2 separate regions of the Homo sapiens genome follow, and region 1 is linked to region 2. Evidence: promoter capture Hi-C in 16 types of primary human blood cells and fetal thymus (Javierre and others, 2016). All regions are on one chromosome and are shown on one strand. The core of a region is centred on a gene start or on the middle of the fragment in contact, and the rest is flanking DNA. Distances in the headings are between cores, read along the strand shown. Region 1 has its middle 4.8 kb from the start of STK17A. Region 2 holds the start of MRPS24 (mitochondrial ribosomal protein S24).

The links. The method cuts DNA at HindIII sites, captures the fragments that hold promoters and counts their contacts. A CHiCAGO score of 5 or more calls a contact.
Region 1: a contact is called between a fragment that was not itself captured here and the fragment with the promoter of MRPS24 in region 2, in 2 of 17 cell types (monocytes and total CD8 T cells). The highest score is 7.8, in monocytes.

Annotation. Positions count from the first base shown.
Region 1 is chr7:43,574,869-43,581,835 of GRCh38, forward strand. No RefSeq gene overlaps it. Among named protein-coding and RNA genes, the nearest start is that of STK17A, 4.8 kb to the right of the region's middle. RefSeq lists enhancers at 2,261-3,460, 2,592-3,093. The HindIII fragment of the contact is 1,587 bases long and covers 4,288-5,874 here.
Region 2 is chr7:43,868,231-43,875,427 of GRCh38, forward strand. MRPS24 (mitochondrial ribosomal protein S24) reads right to left here and starts at 1,287. Exons shown (of 4, transcript NM_032014.3): 1 at 1,227-1,287; 2 at 1,078-1,146; 3 at 733-844. The coding sequence starts at 1,265. It overlaps URGCP-MRPS24 (URGCP-MRPS24 readthrough), which reads right to left. Exons shown (of 7, transcript NM_001204871.2): 5 at 1,078-1,146; 6 at 733-844. The coding sequence ends at 756. It overlaps LOC124901620 (a long non-coding RNA gene), which reads left to right and starts at 1,416. Exons shown (of 2, transcript XR_007060296.1): 1 at 1,416-2,604; 2 at 2,718-3,412. RefSeq lists silencers at 999-1,058, 1,359-1,418, 3,686-3,861 and an enhancer at 1,649-1,768. The HindIII fragment of the contact is 8,402 bases long and covers 1-6,169 here.

The DNA of each region.
Region 1 (6,967 bases), core at 3,831-6,330, 290 kb before region 2:
AAACCTGTCTCTACTAAAAATACAAAAATTAGCCAAGCATGGTGGCACATGCCTGTAATCCCAGCTACTCGGGAGGCCGAGGCAAGAGAATCGCTTCAATCCAGGAGGCAGAGGTTGCAGTGAGCCGAGCTGGCACCACTCCACTCCAGTCTGGGCAACAGTGAGACCCCGTGTCAAAAAAACAACAAAAAAAGAAAAAGTCAGCTAATTGTTATGTGTCATTTCTTTCTAGATTTTGTAGTTTTTGTTTGTTTGTTTTACATTTAATGATTTAGAAGATTTGGGGCTTATTGTGGTTTCTTAAATATTATAACTCTATTTCAAAACTATTCTGCTATGTTGAGCTATCTTATTTCATACTGTATTTTAATATGTTAGGACAGTTCTCTCCTTACGACTTTCTTTTGCAAAAATTTTCTAGCTACACTCATTTGGATATTCTTCATGATGAACTCTGAGATAATTTTAACACATTCCAAAAGACATATTTTTGAGACTTATTAGAATTTTGTTAAAGATACTGATTTATTTCCAAAGAATTACAGAATCTAATCTTTTCATCTATGTATCTCTATTGAAGCATTTGTTTATGTCTCTTAGAATAGATACATTCTTTAAAATAAAATATAAGCTTTGTGCATTTTTGTGAGGGTCGTTTCTGCATGCTTTATTTTCATTTTATTCAAATGGAATAGTTCCCCATTAGCTTTCATATCTCATTGTTATTATGTAGGAATGCTATTGATTTATTTTTATTAAACCTAATTGTCTTTTAAAATATATTAATTTTAATATTTTTCAGTTGATTCTTTTTTATTACATTTTACTTATTTATTTATTTTCTTTTATTTTAAAATTTTCTTTTTTGAGATGGGGTCTCATGCTGTCACCCAGGCTGGAGTGCAGTGGCACTATCCTGGCTCACTGCAACCTACACCTCCCGGGTTTAAGCGATTCTTATGCCTCAGCCTCCCGAGTAGCTGGAATTACAGATGCCCGCCACCATGCCCGGCTAATTTTTGTATTTTTAGTAGAGACGGGGTTTCACCATGTTGATCAGGCTGGTCTTGAACTCCTGACCTCAAGCAATCCACCCACCTCGGCCTCCCTCCCAAAGTGGTGGGATTACAGGCATGAGCCATCACACCCAGCCCTTTTTTATTACATTTTAAAATAGCATTAATAGAAACAAGGTTTCACTATGTTGCCCAGGCTGGTTTCAAACTCCTAAGCTCAAGCGATCTTCCCACCTCGGTCTCCCAAAGTGTTAGGATTACAGGCATGAGCCCGGTCCAGTTTATTCTTTTGGATATTCTAGAAGTAGAATATAGAATTCTCTACATTTAACAATTGTGACTATTCCTTCATGACCATTTAAATTCTTCCTTTCCAATATTAATGCCAGAGTGTCTTACTGCACTATTTAGGTTCTCAACTGCAACACTGAATAAGAGTCGTGATAGCACGTAACTTTGCTGTGCCTCTGACTTCAACGATAATACTTCTGTAGGTTTTTTAGAGATGTATCTTCTTAAGTTTAGGAAATTCCCTTCTATTTTAATCAGTCATGAGTGGGTATTGAATATTATGCAATGTTTTTTCCCAGCATTTTCTGTCAACATAGATGAGAAGTAAATTGGCCAATTTCCACTTATTTGTGATTGTGGCTTTTGGTTGTGGTTGTTTTATATCAAAATAATAGATGACATTTGGTTTCTTCCTTAATTCCACTATGATGATAGGGCATACTCTATAGAATTTCAGTCCTTTAAAATTGTTGAAAAGTGCTTTACGACCCACTACATAATCAATAAATATTCTTTTTGCAGCAAAATAATATATATTCTGTAGTGTTGTATGTGTATCATGTCAATTTTGTTCATTGTGTTGTTCAATGCTTCTATGTCCTTTCTATTTTTTTCCCTGCTTGTTCTATCAGTTACAGAGAGGAATGTGTTAAAAATCTCAGGTTGTGATGGTAGATTTGTGTATTTCTCCTTTTAGTTCTGTCATTTTGCTTCGTATATTTCAATACTATCTTTTAAAGATAGCATTGAATTGATTCTTTTTTCACTAATGCATTTTATCTCTTATAATACTTCTTGCCTTAACATCTACTTTGTCTAATATTTTTATAGGTACAACCAATTTTCTATTAGGCACAATAGGCATACATAACCCAGAGATATTGCAGATTCAGTTCCAGACTACTGCAGTAATAATATCATAATAAAGCAAGTCACACAAATTTTTTGGTTTCCCAGTGCATATATAAGTTATGTCTACACTATTCTATGGTCTATTAAGTGAGCAATAGCATTATGTCTAGAAAAACAATGTACATACATTGTACATTTTAAATGAATGTATATGCGAAACAACATACATTAATTTTAAAATACTATATTGCTAAAAAGTGCTATTGATCATCTCAGCCTTCAGTAAGTTGTAATTTTTTTGCTGGTGAGGGGTCTTGCCTCCATGCTGATGGCAACTGACTGATCAAGGTGGTGGTAGCTGAAGGTTAGGGTGGCTGTAGCAATTTCTTAATATAAGACAAAGATGATGTTTGCCACATTGATTGACCCTTTCTTTCACAAAAGATTCCTCTGTAGCATGCAATGCTGTTTGATAGCATTTTACCCACACAGTAGTGATGCAGGATTTTTTTGCTCCTTATCTAGGCTCCTTAGCCAGGCTCCTCCCCTGCATAAGACACGAATTCCTGGTGGCTCCACCCCATTCCCCCAGTGCTTGTGGGCCTCCAGTTCACTGCGGGCATGCTCAGGCAAGTCCCCTGTGCAGGTTCCCTTATCTGCACAAAACATCTGATGTAAACACTTGTGGGGCGAGTTGGAGATTCTCCGGGGACCCTTCCCTATCTGCCTAGGCCTTTGTCTGCCTCTTGCCTCTATCAGTAGGACTTCCTTCAAAATTGGAATCAAAATTGCCACCATTTTATCAACTAAGTTTATGTAATATTCTAAATCGTTTGTTGTCATTTCAACAGTGTTTACGGCATCTTCAACAGGAGTAGATTCCATCTCAGGAAACCACTTTCTTTGCTCATCTATAACAAGCATCTTCCACTGATGTCTTGAGCCCCTCAAAGTCATCCATGAGGATTGGAATCAACTTCCTCAAATTCCTGTTAATGTTGATATTTTTAACTCCTCCCATGAACCATGAATTCTCTTAATGACATCTAAAATGGTCAGAAGATTTTCAATTGACTTTGCCCAGATCCATCAGAAGATTCACTATCTATGGCAGCTACAGCCTTACAAAATATATTTCTGAAGTAACAAGACTTGGAAGTCAAAATTACTCCTTGTTCCATGGACAGCAGAATGGATGTTGTGTTAGCAGGCATGAAAACAATATTCATCTCCTTGCACATTTCCATCAGAGCTCTTGGGTTGTTGGTACATTGTCAATGAGCAGTAATATTTTGAAAGGAATCTATTTTTTTTTTCTGAGCACTAGGTCTCCAGACTGGGCTTAAAATGTTCAGTAGACTATGTTGTAAATACATGTGCTGTCATCCAGCCTTTGTTTTTCGATTTCTAGAGCATAGGCAGAGTAGATTTGGCATAATTCTTAAAGGCCCTAGAATTTTTAGAGTGGTCAAAGAGCATCGGCTTCACCTTAGAGTCATGAGCTGCATTAGCCCCTAACAAGGGAGTCAGCCTGTCCTTTGAAGCTTTGAAGCCAAGCCTGGACTTTTACTCTCTAACTCTGAGTCTTAGATGACATCTTCTTCCAATAGAAAGTCATTTAATCTACACTGAAAACCTGTTGTTTCATATAGCTCTCTTCATCAATTACTTGAGCTAGATCTTCTAAATAAATTCCTGCAGCTTCTACATCAGCACTTACTACTTCACCTTGAACTTTTATGTTATGCAGATAGTCTCTTTCCTTAAATCTCATGAATCAACCTCTGCTAACTTCAAACTTTTCTTTGGCAGCTGCCTAACCTCTCTCAGCCTTCAGAGAATTGAAGAGAGGTAAAGCCTTGCTCTGGATTAGGCTTTGGCTTAAGGGAATCTTGTGGCTGGTTTGATCTTCTATCCAGACCACTCAAACTTTCTCCATATCAGCAAGAAGGCTGTTTCACTATTTTTATCATTCCTATGTTCACTGGGGTAGTATTTTTAATATGTTCACTGGGGTAGTATTTTTAATTCCCTTCCAGAACTTTTCCTTTGTATTCACAATTTGGCTAACTGGCTCAAGAGGCCTAGCTTTCAGCCCATCTTGGCTTTCTACATGCCTTCCTCACTAAGCTTAACCATTTTGAGCTTTTATTTCAAGTAAAAGACATGGGAATCTTCCTTTCACTTGAACACTTAGAGGCTGTTTTAGGGTTTTTAATTGGTCTATTTCAATATTGTTGTGTTTCAGAGAATAGGGAGGCCTGAGGAGAGGAAGAGAAATGGGGGGCTGATTGGTGGAGCAGTTAGATCACACACATTTATCAATTAACTTTGCATGAGTGCAATTCATGGTACCCAAAAGCAATTACAATAATAACATCAAAGATCAAAGATCACGGTCCACCATAACAGATATAATAGTAATAATAAAGTTTGAAACATAGTGAGAATTACCAAAATGTGACAGAAAGAAATGAAGACAGCACATACTGTTGGAAAAATGGCACTGGTAGACTTGCTTGATGCAAGGTTGCCACAAACCTTCAGTTCGTAAAAAATGTAATATCTGCAAAGTGCAATAAAGCAAATTGCAATAAAATGAGATATGCCTGTATTTACATGGCATAATTCTTTCCATCCTTTCAATCTTTCTGTAGCCTTTTATTTGAGGTGTCTCTTACAAGCAACATATAATTGATATTATTTTTAATTCTGTCCATAGCATTTGCCTTTTAACTGGAGTATAGATTCCATTTATATTTAATGTACTTGCCAAAAAACCCTCCTGTTTTAAAAAATTTACCTTTTTTTTTTTTTTTGAGACAGAGTTTCACTCTGCTGCCCAGGCTGGAGTGCAGTGGTACAATCTCGGCTCACTGCAGCCTCCGCCTCCTGGGTTCAAGTGATTCTCCTGCCTCAGCCTCCCGAGTAGCTGGGACTACAGGTGCCCACCACCACGCCTAGCTCGTTTTTTGTGTTTTATTTTAATAGAGATGGGGGTTTCACTATGTTGACCAGGCTGGTCTCGAACTCCTGACCTCAGGTGATCTACCCTCCTTGGCTTCCCAAAGTGATCATCTATTTGTTTCTACTTGTCTGTGTTCCTTTTTTCCCTTTCTTGCTTCTTTTATTTTTTATTTTTTCATTTCCCCTCTTTTTTACATGTTATTCATTCTTTTTCTATTACTTTTGCTGTTATTCTAGAGATTATAATATTCATTATTGATGTATTAAAGCCAAGTACTTTTATCAATTCCTATACAATCCTAGGACTTTAGAACACTTTACTTTCATTTACTCTATCTCACTTTTTGTGCTGCTATTGTGTATATTTTAATTCTACATATATTTAAACTTCACATGACGTTATTTTTATTGTTTTATATAAATTGTGTTTATTTATATCTATCCATATATATATATGTATTTATATCTATCCATATATAAAAGGATTGATTGCTCTTCATTCCTTTAGATGTCTCCATGATTTCATTTGGGATTATATTCCATCTGCCTGAAAAACTCCTTTTGGAATTTCCTTTAATGTAAATCAGCTGATGATCTTAGTGTTTCTTGGTTATAAAACTGGCTGTATTTTATTTTCAATTTTGAAGATCATTTTTACTGGGTATATAATATAGGTTGATAGGTAATTTCTCCTAGCGCTTTGAAAACATTTGAAGGTGTTTAGGCTTCCATTGGTTCTTTGAGAATAAGCTTTTAATTTTATTGTTGCTCATTTGCAGATTATATCTCTGTTTTCTTTGCTGATTTTAAACCTTTTCTTTTTGATTTTGTTTCTCAGTAGTTTACAATGTGCCTAGACATGGTTTTCTTTGCTTGAAATCCTGCTCTATGTTCATAATGTTTCTTGACTCTGAGAATTGTTGTTCATTAGTTTTAAAAAATTTCCAGCCGTTATCTTTTCAAATACTGCTTCTTTTCCTTTTTTCTCTCACCTCTCTTCCTGATATTCCAATTACGTGTGTGTTAGAATGTTTTACCACATATCACATGTGTCATAGTCTCCTTTCTGAGACCTTATCTCTTTTATAGAAAGTTCTTTCATATCTCTTGTATGTCATTTTTCATATTTTGTTTTGCTTATTAGCTTCACTAATTCTTGCTTAAGTTGTATCTCATCTGTTATTAAGCCCATAATTCTGTAGTAGTTTTAGTTAGTGTGTTTTTTTCTCCAATTCCAAAATTCCATTGTATTCTTCTTTGGAGTTTCCAGTTCTCTGCTGAAAACTCTTTATCTTGCAATTTAATTTCTTGAAGATATTTAACAGAATTATTTTAAAATCTGTCTTTAAACTTTAATATCTGGATCTTCTGTGTGTTTATTTCTGTTTTCTTTTTCCCTTAGTTTTTAAGACAATTCTGTGTCCTTTGTTTAAATTAAGTTTCAGACATGGTGTATAAAATATTATATGGGTAATGTGTTGCTCTGAATGATGCTTTTTTTCCCCAGAGAGAATATTTACTGTTGCCATTTGAAGCTGGTTTTCAGCCCTTGGGTCTATTTCCCGTTCATCCACACCCCTAGGGTATAGCTCTTCGGAGTCCCAGCTGAAAGCCTAGTTGCTTACCAGCCCCTCATCATAAATAGGTCCTAAACTCCAATTTTTTTTTTGTCTCCCCAACCCCATGAGATGACTGAAAGCTCTGCTTACTTTCTCACTCTTTCAGCCATGGCTTTAAAATCATCAAATACCTCATGGGAAAAGTGGTGGCTTTCTGAGCTGCCTATCTTTCCAGGATTTCAGTCATCCAAGTCCTTGCTGGGAGAGGAAATTTTTAACTTT
Region 2 (7,197 bases), core at 37-2,536:
TTCAGCATTGCAAGGCCATTTTAAACAGCAAAATCACTAACAAAAAGCACGAAAATGCAAATTAAAAAAAAAAGATTCTAGACCATAAAAAGGACACCTTTTACAGTACGAGAGCTGAAACTAGGCAGAGCCTTGTCGACCTCAGCTCGGGACATGCACCTGGGGTGGCAGCTCCACCCACATCTCAGAGTGACCTTGAGAGTGCCCAGAGTGTTGATTTGGGGCTTACAAATAAATTTTAGTCAGTAGAAGAATCTGAAAATATGGAATTCATGAATAACGAGGGTTGTCTGTATATATTTACAGAGAAAAATTTGTGCTTTAGTGGAAAACTGCATTCCTTAGAGCACACTGTTCAGGGTTATCAGATTCTGCAACGGTTTCACTCCTTTCCTTGACTCTGAGCTATTTTACAGCTCTGTAAATTACAGATAACTGACAGGAATGCAAAATAATTCTTGTCTGTAGACATGCAAATAATTTCTGTTCAGTGGAGGATCAATTGAGTCCCTGCCTGCCATGGAAAAAGTCAGTTTTGCATCCATCTTCAAATTTGTTTCAACATCCTGATCTATATATATCTCTGCTTTTTTATGTCTCCCTTGAGTTGGTTTCATAGATTTCTGACCCTAGCATTATTTCCTGAGTTAAAGAAAACCTGTGACACGTGTTCATTTTGTTTACATGACAGTCGGATTGAGTGCTCCTTTTGGAGGCCTGGGGTCCGCTCACCTGTGTGCAGCGACAGCCAGCCTTTACGGTGGGCGATGTAGTGCGGCGCGTGTGCCTCCTCGTAGGTCACCGGCTTGTCCCCCTTGCTTACGCGTACTCGGGCCGCCCGGTTCTAGGAGCAAAAGGGGCCGTGACTCCACGAGATCCCCGATCCAGACCCCTACTTCGCGCCATGTCCCCCCAGTCAGCTGGCACTGTTCCCCGGCCCCAATCCCCTGATCCCTAAGCCCCGACCCTAGCCCCGCCTCGGACCCCAGCGACACGCCCCCTTCAGCCCGCACGGCTTCCCCGGCCCCCGGCCCCCCGGCCCCCAGGCCCCCAGGCCCCTGCCCCGGCGGTGCTCACCTTGGCGCAGACCGGGGAGGTGTGCAGGGCGCGCCAAGCGCAAGGCAGCTCTCGGCTCCAGGACAGCACCTGTGGAGGGAGGGCGCGTGAGGCGGAAACTAGGGACCCCACCTCCGACTCGCAGGGACCTGCCGAGTCGCCCCACTCACCCGTGGCCCCAGCAACCCGCTGCACACGGAGGCCGCCATCTTGGGCCAAGCGGAGCGCGGGACGTACCACAGCGCGCTGAGGGGTGGGGACGACCGCGGACGAGACCAAGTCGGAGCTCGTACTCTGTACTCTGGCGGGGGCGGGGCAGGGCCTCTGCGGGGCGGGGCCGCGGTATGCTGCTAGCTGTTACTCCCGCCTTCCCCGCAGCCCTGTGAATGCTCAGCCTTGTGAATGCTCATCCCGCCGCTGTTCGCTCTCCCGCGGTTGCTGCTTGCATAGGGTTTCAGATCCGGAAATTTGAGGATGCGAAACGTGAGATTTTCTCTTCGACAACCTCACGCTAGTACGGGTGATGGGTGTGCGGCCCACCGGAGCCCGCCCTGCCCAACCTGCACCCTCGGGGCTCGAAGAGGAGCCAAGCGTTTCCCCAGGTCCTAGTTATGCCTCCAAATAATATTCGTAGAAAAACAAAACAGAAAAACCCTCCAGACTTTTATCCACAAATAAAGAAGAAACATATTTTGGTTAAAACGTCACCCAATTCTTCAAGGATGACTTACGCAGTTATGCAAGAATGGGTTTGCCACATGTGACCACAGTGGTGACTGGCCCCTGAGGAAGGAAAATTTTAAGTACGGGGAAGGGGCCGGAGGGCAAGGAGATTCGTGAGAATATCGCAGGGCCTGTAATGCTGAAACCAGTGCGTCGCCACTATTATTGGTATCCAGTAATTATTAATGTCAAACGGAAAAATAGCAACGCGGGATATTTTATTTTAGAAGTCACCACGGTCATGGAAAAAACACGGGCTCTGGAGTCAGACCCATGTATAACAATCTTTGTACAGTTAAGACTCAGTTCTATTATCTATAAAATGGGCCTTAATAATAGTACTACCTTATAGAGCTATTAGGATCAAGAGAATATTTAATCAATGATGGGTTGTGTTTGGTTGAGTGATGTGAAATTGCCAATGTTTTGGCCGTTCTGGGTCTACATCATTCCCCTTAATGGTACAGTACTTGCATACTGCTGCGGTTTCCTGTCAGGGGGAGGACTGGATTATGATCCATGGGAAGGGGAAATGGAAGAACGGTGGAAATGAGTTGCCCATGACCACACTGAGAAGAGGGAAAGAGGGACCAAGACACAAGTCTCTTGACTTCAGTCCAGCCCATTTCCCATGACCAAGATTCCTCTGATTACATGAAGGTGGGTTCTCAAAAAACCCGTAATAAAAGGACAAGGTCTTCCATGTCCACTTCACCAGAAATGTTTTATTCTTACTTTTTAGGAACTGCGGCCCCCAACTGTTATGCATATTGAATAAAGGGACAGAACAGGGATGAGGTGCCCTCCAATGCATACTTTGCAAATGTAAGAACTTTCAACATTTCCTAAGAAATCCTTTTCAACTGACAATTATTTTTTAAAGTTTTCATAATGTTCAATAATTTTATAATTGTTAAGTTTCATTAATTTGCTCCAAGGTGGTGAGGAACATGGGATGTGGCATCTGAATTGCCTGAGTCCAAATCGTGGACCCAATGCTTCCTGGCTGTGTAATTTGGACAAGTGACTGAACCTTCTGAGCCTCGGTTTCTCTCATCTGTAAACTGGGGACAATAATGGTGGTTGTGAGAAGTACAGTATGATGTGCCTGGCAGAGGGAGAGAGCAGTTGTGGGTTTTGTTGTTGTTTTTAACGAGTCCCTGATAGCCACATATCCCGTTAGGGAGATGAGCCAGCTATTGAGGGTTCTGTGAGAACTCATAGCAACACCACCCTAATCAGAGGAAAGGGGAAGGAGAAAGGGAAACAAGATCCTTGGGCTGATCAGAGGCAGAGGTGGCAATGGCACAACACCTATTGGGGCCCAAGGTGGGCAGGGGCCACACCACGAAGGCTGTGGTTGGGAATCAAGTTTAGCCCATAAAGCAGTAGGCAATCAAATGATCAAATTTATGCTTTCCTCTATTCAAGCCATTCTCCCTTATGCCTGAGATCTCTCTCTGGAATTCCAAACCGATCTAGATCTTTCCAAGCATCACAATGGCCATTTCAGTGGCAGACATTTCTGGGGTTCAAATATCTTGTTATCTATCCTTTATTAGCTTTGTTTATACTGTGATTGGGGGAAAGGGGACGTGTCGGTCTTTACATGATTAAAATTACTTAAAATGACTTTTATACATCAGTATGAATGTTATATTGTTTTAAATAATCAGCAGAAAAATCTGACTGGGGATGTTTTATTTTTCTGTAACTTCCATTTGTTGTTGTTTTGATGCACTTTCCTTCTCCTATTAATTCCATAAAGGAGGCAGTATTTCCAGGCTTCACAGAGCAGAAGATGGAGGCTCACAGACTCACCTGAGGTTACAGAAGTAGTAAATGGTAGCAGGCCTTTTTGCTCCAAAGCATGTGCTCTTTCAGTATCACTTCCTGGGGGTGAGGGTTCAGACCATGTTAGGATCAGGGAATGGCCTGGGTTTCTGTGGCTTGCTGCAGACAGCTCCCAAGTGGCCCTCAAGGACTGCCTGGACATGGAAAGGCCAGGAGCATATGACCCCATGTGAAAGACCCATCTGCACCCTTCCTGGAGCCTAATGCAGAGACAGGGATGTAAAACTGCTTTTTCTCTGACATGAGCCTTTGTTCTGTACATAATAACCAAGAACCAGAAGTTGCTCCTATGCTCTCAAAGCAGTGATTTGCAATTGCATGACAGAGCCCCCTGGGTTCCACACCACCTCTGTGGGGAGAGGGCAGGCACTCACACTTTTAAAATGCCCCTTAGATGATTTCAATTTGCAGTCGGGGCTGAGAACCAGTGTCCTGAACTCACTCAGTTTATTTGGGAGACTCCCAAAATGTGTATTTGCAGAGCCCCCTTTCGGGGAGAGTGCTGTTGGATGCCCCTGGAAGATTATGGCAGCTCTCTAAGGAACATAGCCATAGTCCACGCCCACCACTCTTGGTCACAAGGGCAGAAGAAGGGAGGAGGGGTCTGCTGGGAGGTCAGGACTTCTTTGAGATGATCTGTCCAGTTGGGTGCAGCACAGCCACCATGGGCTCACCCAGAGTGCTCAGGGGATACAGCACTGGCTGGGCCATGGAGAGACACTGTGTAAAAGGGAGCTGTCAGCCCCCTTGTACTTCCAGAGCCTGAAGAGTTTCAGAATCCAGCCTGGGGGCGGTGGGGTGACATCTCCCTTCCTGTTGGCTGCAGGGTGAGCCGATATCACTCCACTCATGGTGGTTCTCTTTACAGCTGACTTATCCTAACTCAGAACTGCTGACACTTTACACTTTGTAAACCTATGGTTTTTACATTATTCCTTGTGATTCTTTTTTTCCTAATAACTCGTTCACTAGGAAAAATCCCAGAGGCTCTCAGCTCTATTCTGAGAAATAGGTCAAACAACTGAAACCCTATGAGTAAAGCAGAGAGGCGTGTCAAACCAGATTGCCAAGACAGCTCAGCCGTTTTCCCTGTGAGCTCCTGCTCCATCCCCCCACCTCTGTTCTCCTTCTGGTGAGGCACAAGGGCTGGGTTTGGTGGGTGAGGTCCCCAGCTATAATTACTGACATCAGCTTTGCGGTCCCAAGGAATCCACTCCCCTGTTATCAGAGCTATGGGCAATTAGAAATGCCCAGTGCCACACCAGAACCCTGGGCTAAAAGTCAGAACCTGAAGAAGCCAAACTGGTGCTTAGGATAGAGGGGGTGCGGACTCAAGAAAGAGAAGACCGAGGGATGGGCTCATGAGCTCCAGCCCCTGAGACTGCCACTCCCTGGCTCCCAGAAACTGCTAGATCTAGATATAATGGGCTCAGATGAGGAGACAATGAAAATGTGCTAAGGACCAAGAAGGGCACAGAAAGGCCTCTGAACCCTTGGGTGGGCACAAATGGAGGTGCGACTGGCACCAGAGGCTGTTCTGAGAGATGTGCCCGCCAGTCAACCAGGGCCAGAGACAGGCAGAAGGGGCCCCCAGGCAGACAGCAGCATGGAAGAAACCATGGCCTCCAAAGTGTGTATGTGGCGGGGCGAGGGTGTGGTTGACGAAATGACAGGAGACCAGGACCAAGGTCATCTTGGCTCTTGTACAGCCCTGACTCATCAGTGCTCATAAAGCTGCACTCTGGTGAAATTTTGTTGGAGTCTTAGAAGAAATCAGGATAGGTTTATGGCCAAATTATTTTATTAGTGACTCAGAAAGAGGATTTTCCCTTTTACTGGGCTAATACACCACACCTGAGGAGTTGGGGTAGTTACCAGATCAGGTTTATATTGTATAAACTGCAGACCACCACCAGTTCTGCTAGGTGCTGTTTCAGTAAATTAAGATAGTATCGATGAGAAGATGCTGTTTTACATACCATTAAGAAGGAAAACTGGCTGCAAATTATCTTAAGGTACCATTGATTGATTAAAAGATGAATCCTGATCTGACATGTTAAAATGTTTGAGGCTGATGCAGAAGGCAGTTTCCTCTCCACAAACCTCATGGGTGTGCAGAATGGTGTAGACACAGAGATGGGTGCCTCACTTACCTCATGCACAGACTGGCTTTTCCACCACAGGGCAGGCACTGTATAAGCACCTTCCATTCCTACACAGGCGCTAGTAGGGGGAACTAAGGCTTGGAGAAGCCAAGTAACTTTGCTAAAGGGTCATATAATTAGTAGGAAGTAAGGCTGAGGTTCAAAACCAGGCCGGACATCCAATGTGCTGAAGCAAGCTACACCTCATCTCACAAGAGAGGCGAAGACACGCTTGTTCCTTGTCCCAAGCACTCTTCAGGCCCATTTCCTCCAAGATGGTACTTGCTTGGTTTGACACTTTCATCAAACAGGACCCCTTGTGAGCACACGGCCATGCTCTGGTGAGCAGCCTGCCGCCCTGTCCACCTTTCTGGGTGGCTCTCTCTCTACTAAGCTTGGCTCCAAGGACATGACCGTCCAGTAGCCCCATGGCAAATTCTGGGGCTTCTCAGACCTGAAGGTGAGCATTTTGAGCTCCAGATATGAAAGGCAAGTCCTGGGTGTTGTGTTCATTGGAATCCTAAGAGCAGCACTGACTGGAGGGCTAAAGGCAAGGCCCATCCACAGTTCACAGACTTGAAACATCAACCCTTCAAAAAGGGTGGGAGGAGGCTGGGTACGGTGGCTCACTCCTGTAATCCCAGCACTTTGGGAGGCTGAGGCAGGTGGATCACTTGAGGCCAGAAGTGTGAGACCAGCCTGGCCAACGTGGTGAAACCCTGTCTGTACTAAAAATACAAAAATTATTTGTATTTTTGTGATGGTGGGCGCCTGTAGTCCCAGCTACTTGGGAGGCTGAGAATCACTGGAACCCAGGAGGTGGAGGTTGCAGTGAGATCGCGCCACTGCATTCCAGCCCAGGCAACAGAGCAGGAAAATGAAAAAGGGAAAGGTTTTCCTAAACTTATTACTAAGAGACCAGGTTTGCAGAGAACCAGGCTCCTGGAACGCAGGAGGCAACAGTTTGGATGTCCCGGGAGCAGCAGGTGGAGCATCTGGGGAATCCAGAAATCCACAGCAGGCAGCCTGCCAGGCATCTCCAGAAGAGGGACCAGGAAGCCTTTTGTTCAAGAAAGGATTCCAGTCTAGAAGGCTGGTGAGCTCCCGAGAGCTAAAGGCTCCCTTGCTGTGTCTAGTGAAAGGAGGACAAGAAACATGGTAGGAGCTCTTGGGGAAGGGCCTGGTTTCTCTGAAGTCAAGAAACACAAAGAGAAAGAGGCTCCAAGGTCTAAGCAAGGCCCAGAGGATCAAGCAGAGCTTCCTAGAGCTGGTGAAAGGGCTCAGGTGGGGTTCTGAGGCCCAGTGAGGTGACACTGGCCTCTGGGAAGGGCCAGCACAGGCAAGGACTCCAGCGGGAAAACTGACAGGGCAGAACTACCAAGTCCTTGGCCAAGCCTCTGGTTCGAATGGTGGCAAGTGG